Regions from separate parts of the Homo sapiens genome. Here all the other regions are linked to region 1. The links are contacts of gene promoters, found by promoter capture Hi-C in blood cells and fetal thymus (Javierre and others, 2016). All regions are on one chromosome and are shown on one strand. The core of a region is centred on a gene start or on the middle of the fragment in contact, and the rest is flanking DNA. Distances in the headings are between cores, read along the strand shown. Region 1 holds the start of INTS6-AS1 (INTS6 antisense RNA 1). Region 2 holds the start of PHF11 (PHD finger protein 11). Region 3 holds the start of DLEU1 (deleted in lymphocytic leukemia 1).

Region 1 (4,407 bases), core at 1,478-3,977:
CTGCCAAATGGCATGGCTGAAAGAGCTGTAACACAAACGGGCTGAAATATGCCCCTTGCTTGCCATGTTGTGGGCAACACAACAAGAGAAGAGAGAAGAAGAGAAGAAGAAAGGAAAGAGAAGGGGGAAGAGAGGAGAGAAGAGCTGTGGCCCTTTAGGAAGCCTAGACCTAGGAGCTCCCTGTGACAACCTCTTTGGGGCTCTGCAGCTCCTGGCATCTCCAAGCTTCCAGGTGCCACTGCATTCCCTGGTGCCAGCTGTGGAAGCTGCTTGCAGTACACCTGGACCAGCCACAGCCTTGCAAGGGGCCAGCCCCTAGAGCTGCCCGCCCTCCTGCAGCTGGCATGCCGGGCTGTATACAGTGGCCGGACCCCATGCTTGCTCGCTCACACACCCCTCGCTGCTCCGCACCTGGCTTGCACTTGGCAGGTGTGGGATCCAGGCCGTAGTATGAGCAGAGTGCAGCCTGCTGGGACTGGTGGGCAGAATGAGCCCGACCAAAATTCGGGCAGAGGTGCCATTTTTCCAGCTGGAAAAGTGACACTCCAAGGATCCTGTGACAATGGCTCCACTGAAAAATGATTTCGAATAACTGTAATAATAGGTAAGGTCATTGTGAACGCATGTTAATCTTCAGTAGTCTAGTTTGATTTCTTTCAAACATTGCTTCTACTTAGCAACGCAATTGAAAAATAAATCTCCAATTTATAGGGGAAAAAAAACCTCCATAGATTGGAATAAAGGCCCTCTACTGTCTAGATCTCACCTGTGTTTCTAGATCTTGTACTATTCTACATGCACCTGTTGCTCCAACCTAGCTGAACTTCACTGTTCCTCAGGAAGCCCTCAGCAATGCTGTCTTAACTTCCTTTCTTCACATTTTCAATGTCGGGAAGATCTTTTCACTAGCAGCTTCCCCTTCCTTTACCCATATCCAAATCCTACCAGTCCTTTAAGACAGTGTTTCTTAAAACTGAATAATGAACAGACTCCTAAAATAAATTCTTATGATCCTAGAGAATGTTTTCAGTAGGCTGGGGTCCACAGACCAGTTTGAAAAGCACAAATATAAAGAACTAAAGAGCAATTGTATAAAATTATGCAAATGATCAAGTTGAAAGACAAATTTCATCTTTATAACTGGTAAAATAACTCGTATTTTGCCATAGAACTCTGATTCTTATCTTCAGATCTATGATCCGTTTAAGAAACACTAAGGCAAAGCTGAAACCTTGGAAAATGTTCCTGCATCACCCCAAGGTAATACATTTTTATTTTTTCTGATTTGGTGTCTAACAACTTTCTGCCTTGGAGTAGCTAGTAATATGTAGCATTTTCCTAGAAAACATAAGCTCTTTGAAGACAGGGACCACATTTTATTTATTTTTTATATGCACCACACCTAATACACAGTACATCCTCAGCAAGTACTGGCTGTAAAGCCTATATTCCATGCTCTTATTTTGTAGTCCAAATCACTTTAAAAATCACACTTCTTCTATTGTTCATACTCATAGAAGAGCATATTACTCAAATAGCTCTGCTATAAATTAACAGTAAGTTTCAGAAGTTATACCAAGTCACGAGACTCAGATTTTTAAAAAGTGCCACAAAGTGTCTCTTCTGTGTCAATGTTAATAGAACCCTTTCTTTAAATGATCAGTAGGCAAATTAAGAATTTCCGGATAAAGAACAAACTCTGGAAAAACAAAGCTAGTGGGAGAGGCCCTGTAAATACCTACCTAGTCTTACAAGGGCTGTCTCTAACTCAGCTTGTATTTTAGGCAGCGTCTTCAGTTTTTCAACTAATGTGTTTGAGAAAACTGTTTTCCTCGGACATGCAGGCGTGGACTCCTTACTTCAGGTAAGGTGACAGCAGCTTGACAGAGAGTGCCTTCCCTCCCACGGCATTTGGGACGAGGCTGAAGGAAAGACACAGGCGGGGTTACGGGAAACCCATTCTCTGCGCCATCTGGGCAAGCTGAAGTCAGTTTTTCCGCTTTCTCACGAGGTAATGGATTATCATGGGCTCAGGTCCCCTTCAGCTCTGAAACAGGTATTCTATGGCTCTAAGTAAACACGGCAAGAGACAGGTTATTTCTTTGGTAAGATCAGTTGTATTTCCCAGAGAATAAAACGGGCAACAAACCATTTATCGATATGTGAGTCTTCCCCCTAGGCCCTAGCTATTTGGGGTTGGATAAAGAAAAAGAGGGTTTGCTTCCTTTTTGGCGGGTCCTCCAATGACAGGGCTCCTGGCCCGCTGCGGGTCCAACTCCCACCTCTCGTGGCTCCCCCGAGGCCGAGCGAGGCTCCGTGCGAGGACAGCCCCTCAACCGCACTCCCCAGAGGGAGCGCTGGGACTCGCGGAGGAGATTAGTCCCCGGTCATAAACAACCTCTCACTTCCCCTCCCCCGCCCGCGCCCGCTCGCGCCGGGGCGGCGCGCCGGGGCGGCCCTCCGAGGCCCAGGAACCTCCTCCGGCGCCCGCGAGGCCCCGAGTCCTCCTCCGGAGGGCGGCTGCGGGCCTGCCCTCTTCTCCTAACCAGGTGTTTGTCCACTTTACTCAACCCTTCTTACTCGTCCACGCTACGGCCACCTCACAGGGGCGGCTGACGCCAGCCCCTTTTTCCCTCCCCTCGACCCCTATCACCTCCAACAGCCAAGGAGAGGCCGGCGGCCCTGACGCGCAGGCTCACCGCCGCGGCCGCCCCGCGCGCGCGGACGCGGCCCCCGCCCCCACCTCGCGGTCCTTCCGCAGTCCGGCCCCGCCCCTTCCCGAAGCCCGCCTCCGGGTCGGCCCGCCCGCCCGCTCGCGCGCACCCGACGCCCCGCCTCTGCGCGTGCTCAATAACTGTCCCCGGAGCCGGCCTACAAGCTTCCCCCGCCCCTGAGCTGTTTAAATATGCTAATGAAAGGATAGGGCCTGACCAGTAGAACGGCGAGGCGGTGTATCACGTGGCTCGGGGACGTGTCAGGGGCGGAGCCTCCGCAGCCCCTGCCCGAGTTAAAACCGGAGTGTGAGAGAGAAAAGCGCTTCAGTAGCGAGAGGGGCTGAGAAAGTGGTGACACCGCCGGGGTGCGGAGGGAGTCCCTGAAACTTCTCCCAACAGCCCCAGGGCCAATCTTCCCTCAGCCCACTCCCCTCTTCGCCAGCTCCCAGGTCCCCACTCCTGTACCGGGGGTGGGGTGGGGAGCCAGGCCCGTCTCCCGCTGGGACACACACAGGGGCCGGGAGCGGGGACGGGACCCCCGAGGCGGGGGGGACGAACCGACAGACAGACGGCTGGGCGCCCGCCCCAGCGGGCAGGCAGGCAGGAGGAGGCGGAGGCGGGGGTACGACGGGGAGCACTGGGTCTGGGGAGTTTCCTCTCAACTATCGGGGGAGAAACTCCCCGCAGCCGGAGGAAAGACCCAGACAGTGTTTTCCTCCCGGGGGCCGTGCTCCCCCGCCCCGCGTAGCGGCGGTCGCCGCCACCGGCGCCTCCACCTCTACCATCTCCTCTTTCTCCACCACCTCGGGCCCCGGTGTCCCCGGCCAGCACTATGCCCATCTTACTGTTCCTGATAGACACGTCTGCCTCTATGAACCAGCGCAGCCATCTGGGCACCACCTACCTGGACACGGCCAAAGGCGCGGTAGAGACCTTCATGAAGGTACCGACTGACCGAGCCCGGGCGGCGACCCCGGCCCGGCGGCCCGCGGGCGGCAGGGTGGGGGAGGGCGGCCGGGGCGGGGGTGTCGGGGACCTGACTGCGGGAGCTGCCGGGCTCGGGGACCCCCTCCCCCACCGCGCGGGCGGGCGGGCGCTGCGAGCCGGGTTCGGCCGGGGCCCGGGCTCCGGCCCCGGGCGGTGTGTGGGGAGCGATCTGTGTGTGGGGGACGGCGTGGAGGGGTGGCCGCTGCGTGTGCGGTACTGTGGGGGCGGCGGGGCCGCTGGGCGCCCCTTCTCCGCCTCGTAACCTCGCCTCTGTGCTTCCCTGTCGCCCGCCCTGTTCCTCCTCCCGTCCCGCAGCTCCGTGCCCGGGACCCTGCCAGCAGAGGAGACAGGTATATGCTGGTCACTTTCGAAGAGCCGCCCTATGCTATCAAGGTAACAGCCCTCGCCCTCCCCCTTTCCTCCCTTCCCTTCCCTGTTCCTTCCTCGCTCGCCCTCCCCGCCCCCCCATTCACCCTTCATTATGCTCCCCTCCCCCACCCGCTGCGCTCCCAGCCGCTGAGGTCTCTTCCCTGCGGGCTCCCACCCCCTCCCCCGCTCGGCAGCGTCCTAGCGCGGCGCGGAGTCGCGGGGCCACCGCCGTCCCCTCCCGGCCCGGCCCGGCAGCGGCGGCGGCGGCGGCGGCGGCGGCGCTGCTATCAACATGGCCGACATTTCCCCTCCGCGGCGTGAGCGGCAGCAATGAACT
Region 2 (4,407 bases), core at 705-3,204, 2.0 Mb after region 1:
AACTGAAAATGGGATAATGTGGCAATGAGTTTTCCTTGCAGAGAATAGCAAATGGAAAGATCCTGAGGCAGGGACAGCTTTGGTGGCTTAGAGGACCTACAAGGTAGCAGGGTAGCAGAGTCATTAAGATGGGCAGGAGTCAAATCAGATAAGGACATGGGGTAAACTGCAGGCCAGGCTCATAGATTGTTCTGAGAGTCATGGGAGACTATTGGTGGGTTTTGAGTAGGAGAATCACATTTGCTTTTTGTTTTTCAAAAAGCATTTTGGCCGCTCTGCAGGCCTGCCTGTATTAAAGGCTAGAATAGAAGCCAGGAAAGCAATAGTCCAGACAGAAGATCATGATGGCGTAGGCTTGGGTGGCAGTAATGGAAGTGGTGAGAAGCAGTCAGGCTCCAGATACAGTCAGGCTGAACACAGAACTGGCTGGCCCGACTGATGCATTAGAAGGGGTGTCCGGAGGAAAGAGAGGCCCTGAGGAGCCACTAAGGTTTTTGCAAGGAGCACCTGGGCGAATGGAATGGGCTGGTGGTTGAGCAGGTTTGGAGTACCTGAATACAGTGGAGGAAACAAGAATTCTCTTTGGGACATACTCAGTTTGAGATCATTTCAGAAATGGAAGAAGTTGGTTATACCAGTCTGGAGTTTGAGGAAGAGGTCAGGATGGAAGCGCATCTCCCGTGACTTACCTTACAGTCCATATGTATACCAATGAATGAAATATCCAACTGATTGGCTTGTGGTTGCCACGTATGATGTTTACGTGTGACGTTTTGTGGTTTGGTGCCTTTGTGTCATCCTCTCTGCTGGGAACACCCCTTCAACTTTTCCACCTTTGGCTGAGTCTTGCCCTTTAAAGGTAAGCCCATGAAACATGGAGAAACCCTCTCTACTAAAAATACAAAATTAGCTGGGCGTGGTGGCACATGCCTGTAATCCCATCCACTCGGGAGGCTGAGGCAGGAGAATCGCTTGAACCCGGGAGGCAGAGGTTGCAGTGGGCCGAGATAGCGCCTTTGCACTCCAGCCTGGGCAACAAGAGTGAAACTCCTCTCAAAAAAAAAAAAAAAAAAAAAGGGTAAGCCCAGCCATCCTCTCCTCAAAAAGCTTTCCCTGAAGACTGGGAGTCAGGAGTCTCTCATCTGTACCTCTGTGGTTCTGACCTCCTCATTAAAGTTGCCTAGTAGAGTCTCTAGGGCAGGGTCTGCCTAACTCATCTTTGTATGCTCAGGACCTTGCCCTGAGCCTGGCACACCGTTTGGAGCTATACACACACGCAAGGGCAGGAACCCATCAGAAGACCCACCCACTCAAGTAGAGGGCCGGGGAGGACTGGAACGACTGGAGAAGGGGAGACGGGTTCCAGTCACGTCCTCCGTGAACGTGAGACCCAGCTCTTCCCTCAGGGCCGCCCCCTGCCTCACCGCATCAGGGCGCCCCTCCACTGTCCTGGTTTACCGGTGAGCGGAGGGGCGCTAGGAGAGTTGACATCGGTTGTGGTGGAAGCACTGGGCTGTCACCCGCGGGGGAGGTAAACCGAAGCGTGCCCACCACTCGCGCGAAACCATGGGCAGTCAGAGCCACCTGTGGAACTGGCCTGGGCCGCGCCCTGTCCTCTGGCCCCCTCCCCCACCAACAGGCACGCGAGTGGTGAGCCAAGTTCGTCCAGCGCCGCCCCGGCGTCTAGGGCCCCGGCCCGGAGTAGGGGCAGGTCGGGCCCCCATGCGGCCACGACCGGAAGGCAGGCCCCTTGACCGGGCCCGTCGCTGCCCAGCCCCGCCCGCCCGCCCGCCCGCCCCCGCGGTACACACCGGTGGGAAGGAGGAGCGCCTCCTGCGCGGGCCGGGCCTCCGGGCTGCTGGCGCCGAGCACCCTCTCGGGCCGGGGCGGCGACGCCTGGGCCATGACTGTGCTGCAGCTGCGGGTGGCGGCCGGATAGCGAGATCCCGGAAGTGCCCCAGCTGCACTAGGTTTCGTTTTCTTAAATCTGGGCTGTCGCTTTGAGTCACTAGCCGGCCCGGGGAAAGTTGGGTGTGCAGAGAGGGGTTGTCACACACACTGCTCCAGATTCCAGTCTAGTCTTAATTTGAATAGCTTAAAAAACCCAAACGCCGGGAGCAGTGGCTCACGCCTGTAATCCCAGCACTTTGGGAGGCCGAGGAGGGCGGATCACGAGGTCAGGAGTTCAACACCAGCCTAACCAACATGGTGAAACCCCGTCTCTACTAAAAATACAAAAATTAGCTGGGCATGGTGGCGGGTGCCTGTAATCCCAGCTACTCCAGACACTGAGGCATGAGAATCGCTTGAATCGGGAGGCGGGGCTTGCAGTGAGCCGAGATCGCGCCACTACACTCCAGCCTGGGCTACAGAGCGGGACTCCGTCTCAAAACAAACAAACAAACAAACACACACAAAAAACAAACAAACAAAAAAACCCCAAACGCCAGGCTTCCCTACTCCACCCCCCACAACACAGCGGGAGAAACAATCACTCTCCTGAGGGTTCCTCCTAAAAACTATCATACTGGCCGGGTGGGCGCGGTGGCTCACGCCTGTAGTTCCAGGACTTTGGGAGGCCGAGGTGGGCGAATCACGAGGTCAGGAGTTCGAGACCAGCCTGGTCAACATGGTGAAACCCCGTCTCTACTAAAAATACAAAAATTAGCCGGGCTTGGTGGCGGGCGCCTGTAATCCCAGCTACTCGGGAGTCTGAGGCAGGAGAATCGCTTGAACCCGGGAGGCGGGGGTTGCAGTGAGCCAAGATCGCGCCACTGCACTCCTGCCTAGGCGACAGAGCCAGACTCCCTCTCAAAAAAAAAAAAAAAAAAAAAAAAATTATCATACCGAGTTTGGCTTAAATAAGCATATCTTAAAAGGACGCAGAATTAGCCGATCCTAAATCCAGTTGCCAGTAGCAAGCCTTTATTTAGCACCCATAGGGTACAGAGCACCATACAAGATGAGGTTTTCAGTGAATCTAACATAAATGCATATAATTATAGTTAAAAAATAAGTTGTTCTGGAAAAAAGACATATAATAGTTGGTGGTTTGCTGAGGAATTAAAGGAAAACTGGAGGTCTTCCACTTTCAGCAGGTTGTAAAGAGGAAGACTGCCAACTAGGGATAGCAGAAGAGAGAACATTAAAAAGGACAATTTGTATAGTCTTGACAACTATGAAATGAATTGCAGAAGAGTGTGGGGTCTGCAAAACAGGGAAGTGAGCAGACAGACCCTAGCAGCCAATTTTTAAATTTTTTTTTGCCCTCCATGCAGGAGGATGAAAGAGTATTTCTTGCCAGGCCAAAATGAAAGGCCCTTTATAAAGAGACTGACATTAGGGTGTTCCCCAGCAAGATAGCTCAGGTAGGTCATAGTAAAACAAAGAGCCCTTTACCACACTCTCAGCTTATAGTAAGCTTTTTGGTGTTCCACACTTAAATATGAGTAGACTACCAAGACCATTAACTCTGAGGAAAGCCTATAATGTGAACGACCAAAACAAACATACAGGGGAAACAAAGAAACAAACCCTGGAGGACACAGATTATGCCGAAAGAATACAGAGATGCATGCCTGTATGTGTATGTATACGTGTGTGCATATACATACATAAACACACAAACATCTTCAAGGAGATAAAATACTGCAACCATGAGCCAAAATAGGATGCTATTAAAAAAAAAGAATATTCGGAGAAGGGGAGCTCTTAGAAATTAAAAATATGAGACAATATGAGACTAGAAAAATAAAATGCAACAGATGAACTGGAAGATTAAATTGAGAAATGCTCCTAGGAAAAGGTCCTAGCAAGAAGACAGAGCTGAAAGTTAAGAGAAAAGATAGGAAAATTAGAGATCAAATTCTGGAGGTCTAACATCTGGAAAACAGGAATTCCAGAAACAGTGAAGAGATGGGAAATCATTAGTTTCAGACGGAATGATCCCACCAGGCACCTAGTACAAAGGATGAAAATGGACTCTTAACAGGGACAGAACATTGAGACAAAGATAAACCTATAAGCTTCAAGAGAGATAAAAATGGATTATATATGCAAAAGAGAAGGAACAGAATGGCATTCAATTTCCAGTAGTCACCCTGGAAGCCAGAAGACAGATTTTCAGACTCCACAGCAACAGCACTGAAAGCTAGCAGATGTCTTCAAAACTGGGCATGGAGACCACTAAAGAATCCTATACCTTGCCAACCAAAACAGCAATCAGGTATAAGGGTAAAATAAAGACATTGTCAAACACACAGAGATTCAAAACATTTACTTTTCATTTTTCCTTTCCAAAAGCTATTGGAAGAGCTTTACCAATATGTGGAAGAGTAAACCAAGGAAAAGGAAAATAATGGCATCTAACTGGAAACAGATCCCACATAAGAGACAAAGTGAATCTCT
Region 3 (4,407 bases), core at 633-3,132, 1.4 Mb after region 1:
ATTAAAGAAGCCAGTTTAAAAGATCAATGACTGACTGACAATAACAAACATTTACTAATATGCCAAGCACTGTTGAAATTCCTTTAATATGTTAGCTCATTTACATCCTTACAACAGTCCAATGAGGTATTAATAGTACTTGTTTTACAAAAGGTCCAACAGATAATTTACCCAACAAGGCACAGCTAGTAAGTAGTGGAGCTGGGATTCACCCAGGCAGCTCGGTTCCAGAGTCGACCCACTTAAGTAGTGCAAAAAAGTACCAGAGATTAAGTAGTGTATTTATACTACTCTGCCACGTTACTTCTTGCTGATCTCAAATTGCTAAAATCCATTTCTTTTCCAAGACACTTAAATAATGCAAACCATGCTACCCTTCTCCCACTTCCTTATTAGTACTTCAGGCACTTTCATATCTACTCTCTTATTTAACATTCACAATGAAGGTTTTAAAATATTTACAACTTTATAGGGCTCCACGCGGTGGCTCACGCCTGTAATCCCAACACTTTGGGAGGCCGAGGCGGGCGGATCGCGAGGTCAAGAGATCGAGACCCTTCTGGCCAACATGGTGAAACCCCGTCTCTATTAAAAGTACAAAAATTAGCTGGGCGTGGTGGCACTTGCCTGTAGTCCCAGCTACTCGGGAGGCTGAGGCAGGAGAATTGCTTGAACCCGGGAGGCGGAGGCTGCAGTGAGCCGAGATCGCGCCACTGCACTCCAGCCTGGCGACAGAGCGAGGCTCCGTCTCAAAAAAAAAAAAAAATTACAACTTTATTATCGTTAATTGTCCTATCAGAGTGCCCATTTTTTTTGAAGGTAGACAGGTTTGCCTAGATATGGTGCTTCTACTTACCAGTTCTAAGACTTTGGGGCAGATTTCTTAATCTGAACCTCAGGTGTCCTCATCTGTAAAGTGAAGATAATACCTACTTCATAAGGCTGTTGTGAGCAATAAACACGATTAATTCGTAAATCATTTATTTAGCACAGTGCCCAGCACACAGTACACAGTCAATACGTGGTAGCTGTCAGTATACCAACGTGTTGCACAACAGAAACTCGTCTTTGCTGGATTCAGTTCACTTATCACGCCATTAAAAAAAAAAATCATCCTAAGTGACACAGAAAAACTGCCCATTCCTATCTCAAAAAGTTTATGAACAAGTTAAGACGGTAAGAGAAACTGAATTCAATGAAAGCGCCTTCGCAACAGGCAGCTTAGGACCGGGAAGAAGGGCTTCAGCAAACTTAATCATTAACTCTAGGCAGGCGCGCGCGCACACACACACACACCGTTGAAGAAGGAGACCACGCCTCCTGTGTGGGCTCAGGTTGAATCGTACAGCGTGGTAGAGAACTCCAGGGCTGCTGAATCTGACAGATGTGGATTCATCCACTTCTGTGCCACCTGTGCTGTCTTGGGCAAATTACTTAACGTCTCTGAGCCTAGGTTTCCTGGTCTTCAAAACGAGAACAGTAATAGTTCCTACCTGGTAAAGTTGTTCCGAGGCTTAAGTGCGATAACCCCTGTAAAGCGCTGGAGAACGGCAAAAGCTCTACAAGCCGGCAGGGCGGTTTTAAATGCACGTGTATCCATATACAAGGTCTCATTGATACATTCCGTTGTTTGGAGTTTAGACACTGGCTGTAAGACGTTTTTCTTTTCTCCTAAGCAGGACCCGTATTTGTTTACCTCCAACGTAGACTAAATGCCTGTGGGCTGGTAGCTATAAGACGACCCCTCGGCCCCACAACCTCTAAGTTCACTTCACCTCCGCGGCTTTGCAAAAGCGCTACACGCACGCGCAAGAAGCAAGAGGACTGCAACCGAAGAAGCAAAGGGAGAGCCGTGCACCACGATGATTCTGCGCATGTGCCTGGCGGGAGGAGGGGGGAGGGTTGGAGTTTGCGCATGCGTAAAAATGTCGGGAAAGCAAGAGAAGGGGGGTTAAGAGGCGGTATTGACAGCTGTGGAGGCAGCCCGCGTTCCCGGCATTCCCTGGGGCGGCGGGGTTGGCTCTAACGAATTTGAATGAGGAGCCTCAGCGCTTTCGGCGCCATTTTCGAGTGATGCCTGATCTCATCAATCTAGCGGGAGAGACAGGATAACCTGTCCGAGAGTATAGCGCCACTATGACTCCGCCGGAAAAATTACTTTAAAAATCGCCAAAAATTACTTGGAGCAAAGGGCAGTCGGCGGAGCTTCGCCAAGGCTGGCGCAGTCGGTAAGAGCCTGAAGAAGTAGCAGAGCGGGACTCGGGAGGTGGCAGTGGTGGGACCCGCAGGCAGTGGTGGGTGCAGGGAGTGGGCGCGGGGTCTACTCTCACTTAATCGCGAAAAATCCGAGGAAGTAGGGTTAGGGGCAACTTGGGCGTCTGCGAGTGGGCGGCGGCGGGCGGAATGTGGCGGGAGCGCGGAGAGACGGGGCTGTGGGGGGAGGGGAGCTGCAGTTTGAGCGGGACGCGGACCGGCTGCGGCGGAGCAGCCGCCGCCCAGCGGATCTGTCAGCAAGACCCCCCGCCCGGGACCGGAGCCGGGGACGGCGCACTGCGGGGTCTCTGCAGGCGGCCGCTCCTTGACAGGAGGACTGGACGCGCGCCCCTCCCCCATTTCCGAACCGGGCCGCCTTTTCTCGCCGTTTTCTCGACCCGGTGATGGCCGTCATCTCGTGACAAGAAACTTAAGGTCGACAGAAAATTCAGGACCCGGAGTCATGGGTCCCTCCGGTGGGTCGTGGCAACAGTCCCCCCCGCCACCGCCCGGCACCCATCTATCTATATTGTCTTTTGACGCTGAAGCGTGAGGTGCCCCAGGAAAGAGTTTCCCAAGCCCTGGCTGCCCTCCCCCGGCGCGCTGGGTCCCGGTGAGGTCTCTAGGTAGGTAGGACTGGCCGCGGCTCGCGCTTCCAAGATGGGGCAGGGGCAGGCTTTTGAGGTTGTAGCGGGCTCTTAGGAAAGATGCTGGACTTTAGCTTCTTTCTGGGGATTTTTGTCATTTGCTCTCGCAGCGTTGTCCTTTCTCAAAGGGGAGGAGTGTTCACGGGTGAGATGAAAGATGGGGCTTCGAGCTAACGATTTCCTTCTCGTGGCTATTTCCTCCGAGTCGCACTTTCTTAGAAGACTTTTTTCTTCTCCGGTGTTTGAAACATGTCGCAAGGAAAAAAGCAATCTGTGAAACTATTAATGTTTTCCTCCCCCAAAAGTCTTTACCCGGACAACTTAACGGTAATTTTGCGATCCCCACCTTTTCTTGACGCTGAGGAGGAGGGACGAGAGTTGTTATTTGTCTTTCCCTTCGGTGATTTTTTTTTTCCCCCTTAGCTGGTGGTTTCTATCAATTCTTACTCCACAGCTCTTGAGTGATGTGAGCCAGTGACGGCATTAACTTTAGGTAATACTTCTATGGCCTTTGTAAAAATCCCGCGTTAAGGATGTATTAGATCTTGAGTTCTTTTCCGCGCTGGAGGCACCACTAGATTAACCCTTTGCCGGTGTATTGCGTGTGGGGCGCACGGCTCTGGGTTGCAAATATTCCGGAGATGCTTTCTGCAGCAGCTATTCTGTTCAGTTGTTCGCAAAGAGGAATAACGCTTCCTGGGAACCGCGGTGACACGCTTCTTTAGGACTGCCTGCCTACAGAGTTTTTCCCCGTGGAATTGATGTAACGATTGATTTATTTCTTATATTCTATGAAGACTGGGGGACCCGCCCTCGCTTAGAATGTTTCCCGGAGGAGAATAGAAGAGTGCAATGTGATGTTTTTCAAATTGTGTCTAACGGAGCTCCCTAAACTCTGGACTTGTTACCCCCTGATTGGCTGGAAGGAAGCGGGCCTGGGGGGTTTGAATGTTGAACGCTAAACTATAATTCTCGACTTTACGAAAAAATATACTTTTAGCCAGAGAACCACGGAAATAGCTACGAAACGTTAGGACGAGAGTTTAGAAAAAAAGTTGGTTTTTAATAGTTTTTTTTCCTCTCAGAAAGGATTTTCGTGTGGTTCTCAAATGTATATTAAAAGTAAAACTGAAGAGGCTGTTTTCGCAAAATTATGTTTCTGCTGGTTGAAATTAACAAGACTTTTATATATTTGTCACTGTTCTTTATTGGTTAAAAACTGAGTGAAAAATTTAGTTTTTTTCCTTTGATAGGAATTTTTCACCTTAAACTACATATATTTGTTGGATGCAGATTACCGGACAGTTGTTTCTTTTATTTTGATGCAAAGAAACTAATTTTCTTAAGGTTCACGAATGATCTTTTTAACATTTTCCATAAAAATTGAACATCTTATTTAAAAAACTTTTCGCATCTAGTGAAAATATACATTTTGCTAATTCAGTAACTGCAGTGAACTAAAACTTTAATTTACAAAACATTTATGTTTCTTAATTTAGACAACAGG

The links. The method cuts DNA at HindIII sites, captures the fragments that hold promoters and counts their contacts. A CHiCAGO score of 5 or more calls a contact.
Region 2: the fragment with the promoter of PHF11 here is called in contact with the fragment with the promoter of INTS6-AS1 in region 1 in 2 of 17 cell types (fetal thymus and activated CD4 T cells); the score reaches 9.3 in fetal thymus.
Region 3: the fragment with the promoter of DLEU1 here is called in contact with the fragment with the promoter of INTS6-AS1 in region 1 in 1 of 17 cell types (fetal thymus); the score reaches 5.9 in fetal thymus.

Annotation. Positions count from the first base shown.
Region 1 is chr13:51,451,665-51,456,071 of GRCh38, reverse strand. It overlaps INTS6-AS1 (INTS6 antisense RNA 1), which reads right to left and starts at 2,727. Exons shown (of 2, transcript NR_103812.1): 1 at 2,654-2,727; 2 at 1,356-2,069. INTS6 (integrator complex subunit 6) reads left to right here and starts at 3,036. Exons shown (of 18, transcript NM_012141.3): 1 at 3,036-3,657; 2 at 4,017-4,094. The coding sequence starts at 3,547. RefSeq lists silencers at 2,271-2,590, 2,681-2,880, 3,111-3,370, 3,611-3,880, 3,891-4,010 and 2 more and an enhancer at 3,001-3,050. The HindIII fragment of the contact is 2,653 bases long and covers 228-2,880 here.
Region 2 is chr13:49,493,500-49,497,906 of GRCh38, reverse strand. PHF11 (PHD finger protein 11) reads right to left here and starts at 1,954. Exons shown (of 10, transcript NM_001040443.3): 1 at 1,812-1,954. The coding sequence starts at 1,905. The region is part of intron 12 of SETDB2-PHF11 (SETDB2-PHF11 readthrough); the gene reads right to left. SETDB2 (SET domain bifurcated histone lysine methyltransferase 2) reads right to left here. Exons shown (of 14, transcript NM_001160308.3): 14 at 2,904-4,407. RefSeq lists enhancers at 1,373-1,422, 1,913-2,152, 2,463-3,148 and a silencer at 1,613-1,892. The HindIII fragment of the contact is 2,314 bases long and covers 1,110-3,423 here.
Region 3 is chr13:50,079,644-50,084,050 of GRCh38, reverse strand. DLEU1 (deleted in lymphocytic leukemia 1) reads right to left here and starts at 1,882. Exons shown (of 7, transcript NR_109974.1): 1 at 1,494-1,882; 2 at 857-909. All of the region lies in intron 1 of DLEU2 (deleted in lymphocytic leukemia 2), which reads left to right. RefSeq lists enhancers at 958-1,753, 3,371-3,430 and silencers at 1,911-1,960, 2,361-2,580, 2,444-2,738. The HindIII fragment of the contact is 5,734 bases long and covers 1-4,407 here.